Regions from separate parts of the Homo sapiens genome. Here all the other regions are linked to region 1. Evidence: promoter capture Hi-C in 16 types of primary human blood cells and fetal thymus (Javierre and others, 2016). All regions are on one chromosome and are shown on one strand. Each heading gives the region's core, a stretch centred on a gene start or on the middle of the fragment in contact. The rest is flanking DNA. Distances are from core to core; before and after follow the strand shown. Region 1 overlaps BSCL2 (BSCL2 lipid droplet biogenesis associated, seipin). Region 2 holds the start of EML3 (EMAP like 3). Region 3 holds the start of NXF1 (nuclear RNA export factor 1).

Region 1 (2,909 bases), core at 67-2,566:
CCCCTCAGTCTCATCCAACCATTCCAATTGCTTGAGTACCTCTCTCCCTACTCAACCACACTCTATTATAGAGCAAAGGCCCCTCCTTCCAAGAAACCTTCCTAGATTAAGCCCAGCACTGTCTCTGATCTGCCTTTCCCACCAAGTAGTTCTGTAATCCAGTATGGGATCTAAGTCCCAGCGCACCATCTGAAGCTTTCCCCCCATCATGTAGACATCAGGAATTTGCTTCATGATGAGGTTGTGTTGTTAATTAATGGAAGAATGGAGTCTTAACATTTATTAGGCCAGGTGCGGTGGCTCACACCTGTACTTGCAGCACTTTGGGAGGCTGAGGTGGTTGAATCATTTGAGATCAGGAGTTCGAGACCAGCCTGGTCAACATGGTGAAACCCCACCTCCACTAAAAATACAAAAATTAGCCAGGTGTAGTGGTGAGCACCTGTAGTCCCAGCTACTTGAGAGGCTGAGGCAGGAGAATCGCTTGAACCCAGGAGGTGAAGGTTGCCGTGAGCCGAGATCACGCCACTGCACTCCAGCCTGGGCGACAGAGCAAGATCTCTGTCTCAAAAACAAAAAAACATTAAACAGCCACTATGTGCTAATGGGAATTTTACATTTCCCCATTGAATCCAAACTAGTCTTGCTATGAGGCAGTTACTATTATACCCATTTTATAATACTTTATACCCAAGAAGTTAAGTCAGGTGACCCACAGCTAGCTTGTTTCTGAATGAGGACACAAGCCCATGTCTGTCTGGCTCTAAAGCCTGTTTTCTGAGAGCAGCTCCACTCTTCACACTTAATCCCAAAGCTGGGCATGCTCCTGAGATACCTGGGGTGTTTGGCAAAGGTTTCTGGTTTTGTAAGCTGATTCCTTTCTCTTTTTTTTTTTAAGACAAAGTTTTGCTCTTGTTGCCCAGGCTGGAATGCAGTGGCGCGATCTTGGCTCACCACAACCTCTGCCTCCCGGGTTCAAGCAATTCTCCTGCCTCAGCTTCCTGAGTAGCTGGGATTACAAGCATGCACCACCATGCCCAGCTAATTTTGTATTTTTAGTAGAGACGGGATTTCTCCATGTTGGTCAGGCTGGTCTCGAACTCTGGACCTCAGGTGATCTACCCGCCTCGGCCTCCCAGAGTGTTGGGATTACAGGCATGAGCCACTGCGCCCGGCCTTGATTCCCTTCTTTATCCTGATGTGTCTGTGACCTCAAAGCCAAGGGTGTTTTCTCCTGAGGAATCCCTACCCAGACATTCTTTTTTTTTTTTTTTTTTTTTTTTTTTTGAGACGGTCTTGCTCTGTTGCCCAGGAGGGAGAATAGTGGTGCAATCTTGGCTCACTGCAGACTCAACCTCCCAGGTTTAAGCGATCCTCCCACCTCAGCCTCTAGAGTAGCTGGGACTACAGCCGTGAGCCACCATGCCCAGCTAATTTTTAAACTTTTTTTGTAGAGATGGGTTTCGCCATGTTGCCCAGGCCAGTCTTGAACTCCTGGGCTCAAGCGATCTGCCTGCCTCGGCCTCCCAAACTGCTGGGATTATAGGCCTGAGCCACCACACCCAGCCCCCTACCCATTCTGATCCTGCCATCTTCCTCCACACCTTCTCAGACAGGCCACCAACACTTACCGAACGCGAAGAAGTGGAGATGATTCGGCCACCTCTGGTGTAGCAGGAAATGGTGACCAAGAACATGCCCAAATCTTGATTCACAGGGGACTCTGGCAGCTCAAGCTCTAAGGTAACACGATACGGCTGTCCATACATCAGCACCTGCCAAAGGTAGCCCCCATTTCTTTAAAAAAATTTTTTTGTTGAAAATGTACTGTCTCTATTCCACCTCCCTCTTAGCCCCCGCAACGCCCCCAAATACTCAGCCACAACCCTCTTGGGTAGCCTAACGGGCCTTTCAATCTGTCATCCCAAGAAGGTGCTGCCCCCTTCTGGTGGCTAGAGCCTCTCACGTCCAGTTCTTGGGTATCCTGTTGGCTCTCCTGAATCAGACTGGCTACCCTGTTCCCAGAAAGGCTGTGTCACGTTTCTTTTCCAAAAGTGAACCATCATGTTGCCAACTGGGCCATCTGTGACTCTGGCCTATGGGCCGGTGAGGCTGTCCCCAGGGCCCAGCCTGTCCTCTCTTACATTATTAATCAAGCACTGACAGTGCTCAGTCTCCCCAGCCAGCTCTGGCACAGTCATCCTCGCTCCAGATCATCTTTCTGCCATTCTAGCTCCCTTATCTTGGTTCTGTTGGTAGCGCCCCAAGACTCAGAGTAGGAAGGCTTCTTCACAGGGATCACCCTCAAGAGGTTAAAGATTTGCCACCAAACATGCCCTAGTTTTTCCTATTTCTATATTCTTCTAGCCCCTTTATTGATTCATATCTGGCAACAAGGCCCTCACACAGTAGTATATAAAAATTACAGGAGTGAGGGTAAAGCTTCTGTTTTTAATTAGAGGTAATGGGTTAAAAAAAAAAAAAAAGGTTAGCCAGGTGCAGTGAGTCATGCCTGTAATCCCAGCACTTTGGGAGGCCAAGGCAGGTGGATCACCTGAGGTCAGGAGTTCGAGACCAGCCTGGCCAACATGGTGAAACCCCCCGTCTCTATTAAAAATACAAAAATTAGATGGACGTGGTGGCAGGCGCCTGTAATCTCAGCCACTCAGGAGGCTGAGGCAGGAGAATCGCTTGAACCCTGGAGGCGGAGATTGCAGTGAGCCGAGAGCGCGCCATTGCACTGCAGCCTGGGCGACAAGAGCAAAACTCTGTCTCAAAAAAAAAAAAAAAAAAAAAAAAAATTTGGAAAATACTTCCCTAGCCCATAGTGAACTACCTCCAAAACATGGGTTCAGCCTTGGGGGTGCTTTCAGTGTTTATCACTAAGGCAATGGTTGACACCACTGATA
Region 2 (2,926 bases), core at 320-2,819, 81 kb before region 1:
CCCCTGAGGGGCTGGGGGTCCATTGCTCAGGCCAGGGGGTCCAGGGGATGACTTGAGCTCCACCTCTGTCTCCGTCTGGGTGCCTCGGCTCACCAAGGAAGGGGTGCACGTGGGTGGCAGTCCTGGGGGGGCTGCAAGACTGCTGGAGAGATGTTGAATTAACCTGAAGCCCCAGAGGCCCCAAGGAGGAGGAAAAATGGGGTGTGATGACATGCATACCTGTCCCCCGGAGGAGCTGGTGTGCCAGAGCCCTGCAGGGAGGAAGGGGGCACCTGCAGCCGCAGCAGGCGAAGGGCTTCTGCCAGGGCTGCCTTTACCAGTTCCATCTCCTGCTCCTGCACCCGAAGCCGCTGGCTCAGAGACTGGAGGGCCTCCCGAGCAGGGCCGTCACCTGGGAAAAGGGCAAGAGGTACTCAGAATGTACCCATCACCTGAAGAAAGCGTAGAGGGGATTCTGTCTCCCCACAACTTTACATGTGTCCGGTAGGACTGCCCCTTTCAGGCAGCCCCAGGCTTGAATGCTCGTCCAGAGGGGAGGAGACGGTGGTAAAGGATCAAGGGCCTCCTTCTGGCAGGGCAGGCGAGAAACCTGGCAAAGCTCCCTTCCTGCTGCCGTCTCAGCCTCCGCAAAGACTGGGAGTACCATGGAGTACCGGGGGGGAAATATGGAGTACTGCCGAGGAACGTGGGAGCCACAGAGAGAGGCGCCGCACTGGTGAGGGCAGGGACCGCAGCCCTCCCCACGCGCCCCCAGCAAGCTCAGGTCTCCAGCGAAAGCTGAGTAACTGAGCCGGGGGAACACCAGGAGAGAGAACGGGGTGCGGGAATGGAGTCATACTGAGGACCCAGAGTACAAGAAAAGAGATCCAGAGTGACAGGAGAGAGTGTGAGTGGTGAGCAGAGTCACAGTGAAGGTCTCAGGGGGCAGTGGGGATCAGAAGGAAAAAGACCTGAAATACCACGAGAAGAGGCCCGGAGTAACGCAGGGGGCAGGGAAACATCGAGGGGCCCGGAGTTACGTGGGGCGTAGAATGACGCTGGGGAAGCCCGAAGTGACAGCAAGACCCAAGCAACTAGGGAGGGCGACCGGAGGAACTGTGGAGGATGCTCGGAGCCCCTGGGGCGGAGGAGCACGCGGGGACGCCTCCAGACAGCCGTCCAGCTCTGGCATAACCCGACGAGCCGGGCGCTCCGGGAAGGGGCACGCCGCCCGCCCCGCCCCGTACTCACCGGGCCCCGCGGCCCCGTCCATCCGGCCCCCGGGTTGCTCCGAGCGGCGGCGGCGGAGGAGGCGTCTAAGCCGCGGGGGCCACGGCCGGGGAGAGGGGAAGGGGAAGCACCCCGGGGCGCGCGCGAAGGGCGCCGTACCACCACCCCGAGGGGGCGCTGTCGGGCGCGGGGAAGGGGCCTGGAGGGGGCGCTGTGGGCCCGGGGCCGCAGTCTCCAGACCCCCCCGGGCCCTCGGACTCTCCCGGGGCCGCTCTCGGCTCCCGGGGGTGGGGTGGCAGGGCCGTCCGGTGCCACAGCGCCGCAGCACAAACAGGCGCCGGACGCGGAGCCGCCAGGAAGCGCGGGAGGGGGGGCGGGCCCGAGGGGGGGCCGGGCCGCTTGGTAACCCCTCCCTGTCCGGGCCTCGCCGCTCAGTACGGGGGCGGGGCTAGCCGGCTGACCCCCTGGCCTACTCCCGGCCTCCGGCTCCAGGCCCTTCCCGGATCCCCGCCCCCGGATTCCCAGGGGACGGGGAAGGGAGCGCCCGCCCCGATATCTCCGCCCCCCAGCCCCTAACCCCTCAGGGTTGAGCGGACCAACCCCACCACTTCCGCGAGGGGCAGGGGCGGGGTCACAAAACGGGCCCTCGGCCTAGGGGCGGAGTTTCTCGTAAGGGGCAAGGCCAAGGCATCTTGTATTGGGGCTGACAGGGGGGCGGGTTATTAGGGCTGAGGATGGGAGGATGCTCAGGGTATTGGGGTCAGGGTGGCATTAGCCCAGCTCAAGCCGGGCCGGGCTGACTCAGCATCCTGCCCCAGCCAGCTTCCATCCCTGACACCTCTGCATTCCCTTGGGCAGAGATGGGAGATGGCGCCGGTGTTGCCCCTGGTGCTGCCCCTGCAGCCCCGCATCCGCCTGGCACAAGGGCTCTGGCTCCTCTCCTGGCTGCTGGCGCTGGCTGGTGGCGTCATCCTCCTCTGTAGTGGGCACCTCCTGGTCCAGCTAAGGCACCTTGGCACCTTCCTGGCTCCCTCCTGTCAGTTCCCTGTCCTGCCCCAGGCTGCCCTGGCAGCGGGCGCGGTGGCTCTGGGCACAGGACTAGTGGGTGTAGGAGCCAGCCGGGCAAGTCTGAATGCAGCTCTATACCCTCCCTGGCGAGGGGTCCTGGGCCCGCTGCTGGTGGCTGGCACGGCTGGTGGGGGGGGGCTCCTGGTCGTCGGCCTCGGGCTAGCCCTGGCTTTGCCTGGGAGTCTGGATGAGGCGCTGGAGGAGGGCCTGGTGACTGCCTTGGCTCACTACAAGGACACAGAGGTGCCTGGGCACTGTCAGGCCAAAAGGCTGGTGGATGAGCTGCAACTGAGGTACCACTGCTGCGGGCGCCACGGGTACAAGGATTGGTTTGGGGTCCAGTGGGTCAGCAGCCGTTACCTGGATCCCGGTGACCGGGATGTGGCTGAGTGAGTGATTTGCGTCTCCCTTCCTCCTCCTCCTCCTCCCTGGACAGGCTCCCTCCTGCTGCCTTGAATCCCCACCTCGCTCAGAGGGGCAATAAGTAGAACATAGTGGCTGAGAGACTGGTTACAGCTCTGCCATTTATTAGCTGTGAAACCCAGGGCATGTTACCAAACCACCCTGGGCCCATTCCTTCACCTGTAAAATGGAAATAATAGTACTTATCTGATAGAGTTGTTGTGAAGATGTGAATTATGCTTGGCTG
Region 3 (2,863 bases), core at 9-2,508, 110 kb after region 1:
TGTAGGGCTTTTGAAAAATGAAGTAGAAACTGGAATTAGAGAGAAGCAGGATGTAGAAATGTGAGACCCAAAAGTGTAACTGAACACAAATCAGACCTCTGAAAGCCACCTGAAATCTGCCACTCAGTACTTTGTCTATACAGTGCAGACGCCAGTTACAAATATGACCAGTTTAAGGATCCTCTAAAAATTCTCCTTGTTCTCAAACTGCCACTTTGAAGTTTTGTGAGGAGCTCTTCGTTTCCATGGCCAGAAATGTCCTTTAACTCAGGAGACAAATTCTAGACTCAGGCTCTAGTGGCAGTGCCAGGCTAGGGTGCTTAACCAGGGACCCTGGAATGCTCTCCAGGAAGATGACCTTCTGATTCATGCTGTGTAGGACTGGCGTCTTAAAAAAGGTCCCTAACTCCCAAAAGAGGTCTGCCTAATACCCAGCACTCTGTAAACAATGAATCTCAACAAATGACCCTAGGAAAAAAGAACATAGAAGGCGCAGCTAACATTCACTGAGAACTTTCTCCAGTGCCGGCCACTATGCTTCAGGCACTTGATAGGAATGATCTCATTTCCCCTCCCCACACACACTCTTAAGAAATGCTGTTGTTATTCCACATTAAGGGGGTGGAAAACGAGAGTTTTAAATTCACGGTTTCAACCTCCACCACGCACTCCTAACTTACTACAAAGAACTAACACCCAGTGTAGTGTTCAGACTAGAATATCCAGTTGATGTGTAAGTCTCGAATATTAAGCCAAAGCCCAGGCCCGAGAGTTCAAGACCGACTGGACGCAGTAAAAAATAGGGCATCAGGGCAGCCCACGAGCAGGGCACTCACTCACATTAAAGGAAGAGTCAGGCCGCCAAACCTAACTGACAGGCATCAACCACCCACAAAGTTCAAAGGAATCCCGTCACCCTACCCCCGAGCCATCCGCTCCGAGCCGCAGGTCCCCCAACACCAGGATGCCAGCAGGAATCCAGGAGTCAACAACTCGGGTGTCCACCTCGAGTGCCCGGCCCCCCGCGCGCCGCTCCCCGCGGACGCCGGGCCCCTAGCGGCCTCACGCCCCGGGGGCTGAGGCCTAGGCCGGCGCCGCCCACCCGCGCCCCAGATAGCCAGTTCCCGACCCGAAGACCAGCACTTACCGCTGTACGACTTCCCCTCGTCCGCCATGCCACAGCGAAGATCAAGGGCGGGCTCAGGCGCTGGCCGCTACGCCGGCAAACAACCTAACTCCCAAGCGCTCAGGACCGAAGTGTCCCTACGCCGGGCGCCACCGCATTTATACAGCAAAGCACGTCGCGCGCCGCTGACGTCCCAGGCTGTGGGCGGTGCCGCCGCCCGGAGAAAGCGCGGCCCCCTGCGCGTGCGCACACTTAAGGCCGTCGTTCGAGGGGCGGGGCCTGGCCCTCCACGCCCCGCCCAAGACCTGAACTTGCGGAACCCCGGCTGGCAGCCAGCATGTCCCCGCACCTTTTCATCTGTCCGCTGACGCTGCCCTGGCAGCTTCAGAGTTAGTGCTAGAGCACAGTGCTGCCGCCGCAGCCCAGAACTCAGTGAGGAAGGGGGCCGCACAAAGGGCTTCAGAGGAATGGAGACCGCGCCTCCAGGTGGGAGTGATGGCTCAGACCCCTACCGGAATCTAGCCAGTGTTTCAGCTCGGCTCCTTGTCTATACCTCGCTTTCTTCGCCTATAAGATGGATTAACAAATCACGAAGTTGAGAATTAGAATGTGAGCTCGAACGTTGACTAATTAAGGGCTTTTTTTCCTCGAGGGCTTGACTCGGCAGGTACTATGCCTGGCACATGGTAAAAACTCAACATATATTTGTGAAATAAATGAATTTGTGTTATGAATTTCCCCCACCCCGCCCCGCCCTGAGTTGCTGAGTCAAATGATACGACATCTGTCAGGGGTTTGGCGAGCATTGTCTTCACAGACCTTCCATCAATGGCGTCCCCTACTAGAAACCCATCGTGTCAACGGGGCAGACAGTGAAGCTCACCAGCAGTGGCAACTTGCTGGAGATGCCGAGGAGGACATTTTAAAATATCAGGGCCTTGGGCTCTCCTAGACCCCCAAAAGCACCACCACCAGCCCCTGACTGTTGTCTCTATAGCTTCAACTTCCTTTGGAATGTATGAGACAGGGGCACTCGAGTGACCTCAGAATGTGGTTGTGAGTCTCGGTCAGGAAGAACAAAGCACACTAATCTCCCTGGACGGTGGGTATTCTGGGCAGGTGTCTCCATTCTCTGTGACTGGCTTTGATTTGGTGAAGTGCTTGGAGGGAATCAAAAGCCTCAACTGGAGTTGGGAACAAATTCTTCACCTTCCACTCCTGGAAGCAGGCAGAGCTTCTGCCTCGCTTAGCTCAAGGAAGAATTACGGCCAAATAGTTGGAGGATACAGATGAAACAGGTCCAAACACTGCTTGAGATAGTCCTGGAAGTTGCCCCCAATCAGGGACCCCCTCTGGGATCCTGCTCCCCTGTGTGAAAGGAAGTTTCCACGCTAATGAAGTGTTGCAACACTTGGTTCTCCCCTGCCTAGAGGCAGCTGTGTGTCAGAGCCCAAAATAGCCTGTGTCAGCAGTGATACCTGGCAGAGCCATTAGCCCAACCCTTTCAGTTCTGGTACTGGGCAGTGGGCTCTCTCCACTCGCTGCCTAGGCCCTTCGACGCTCCCACCCAGAAATGATGACATGGCTAGTGAGGCTGACAGTCTTGCTGTAATTGGGAGAAAACGAGCTGCAGCACATTTGGCAGATTGAGTCACCAGCAGCCAATGTCAGGGGTTGTGCAGGCAGCTGAAGGGCTCAGGGCTCCCTGCCTCACATGGTGAAAGAGGAAGAAAGAGG

Evidence for each region. Contacts are between HindIII fragments. The CHiCAGO score rates a contact against its expected background, and 5 or more counts as called.
Region 2: the fragment with the promoter of EML3 here is called in contact with a fragment that was not itself captured in region 1 in 7 of 17 cell types (naive B cells, naive CD4 T cells, total CD8 T cells and 4 more); the score reaches 7.5 in naive B cells.
Region 3: a contact is called between the fragment with the promoter of NXF1 here and a fragment that was not itself captured in region 1, in 1 of 17 cell types (naive B cells). The highest score is 5.9, in naive B cells.

What each region holds. Positions count from the first base shown.
Region 1 is chr11:62,692,937-62,695,845 of GRCh38, forward strand. BSCL2 (BSCL2 lipid droplet biogenesis associated, seipin) reads right to left here. Exons shown (of 11, transcript NM_001122955.4): 4 at 1,632-1,775. It overlaps HNRNPUL2-BSCL2 (HNRNPUL2-BSCL2 readthrough (NMD candidate)), which reads right to left. Exons shown (of 24, transcript NR_037946.1): 17 at 1,632-1,775. Among named protein-coding and RNA genes, the nearest start is that of LRRN4CL, 4.9 kb to the left of the region's middle. The HindIII fragment of the contact is 2,247 bases long and covers 194-2,440 here.
Region 2 is chr11:62,611,206-62,614,131 of GRCh38, forward strand. It overlaps EML3 (EMAP like 3), which reads right to left and starts at 1,570. Exons shown (of 22, transcript NM_153265.3): 1 at 1,231-1,570; 2 at 220-391; 3 at 1-139. The coding sequence starts at 1,252. It overlaps ROM1 (retinal outer segment membrane protein 1), which reads left to right and starts at 2,052. Exons shown (of 3, transcript NM_000327.4): 1 at 2,052-2,666. The coding sequence starts at 2,077. RefSeq lists enhancers at 95-653, 654-1,213, 1,987-2,046 and a silencer at 1,057-1,936. The HindIII fragment of the contact is 22,044 bases long and covers 1-2,926 here.
Region 3 is chr11:62,804,182-62,807,044 of GRCh38, forward strand. It overlaps NXF1 (nuclear RNA export factor 1), which reads right to left and starts at 1,259. Exons shown (of 21, transcript NM_006362.5): 1 at 1,148-1,259. The coding sequence starts at 1,175. STX5 (syntaxin 5) reads right to left here. Exons shown (of 11, transcript NM_003164.5): 11 at 2,679-2,863. RefSeq lists enhancers at 1,052-1,551, 1,518-1,707, 1,728-1,777. The HindIII fragment of the contact is 11,555 bases long and covers 1-2,863 here.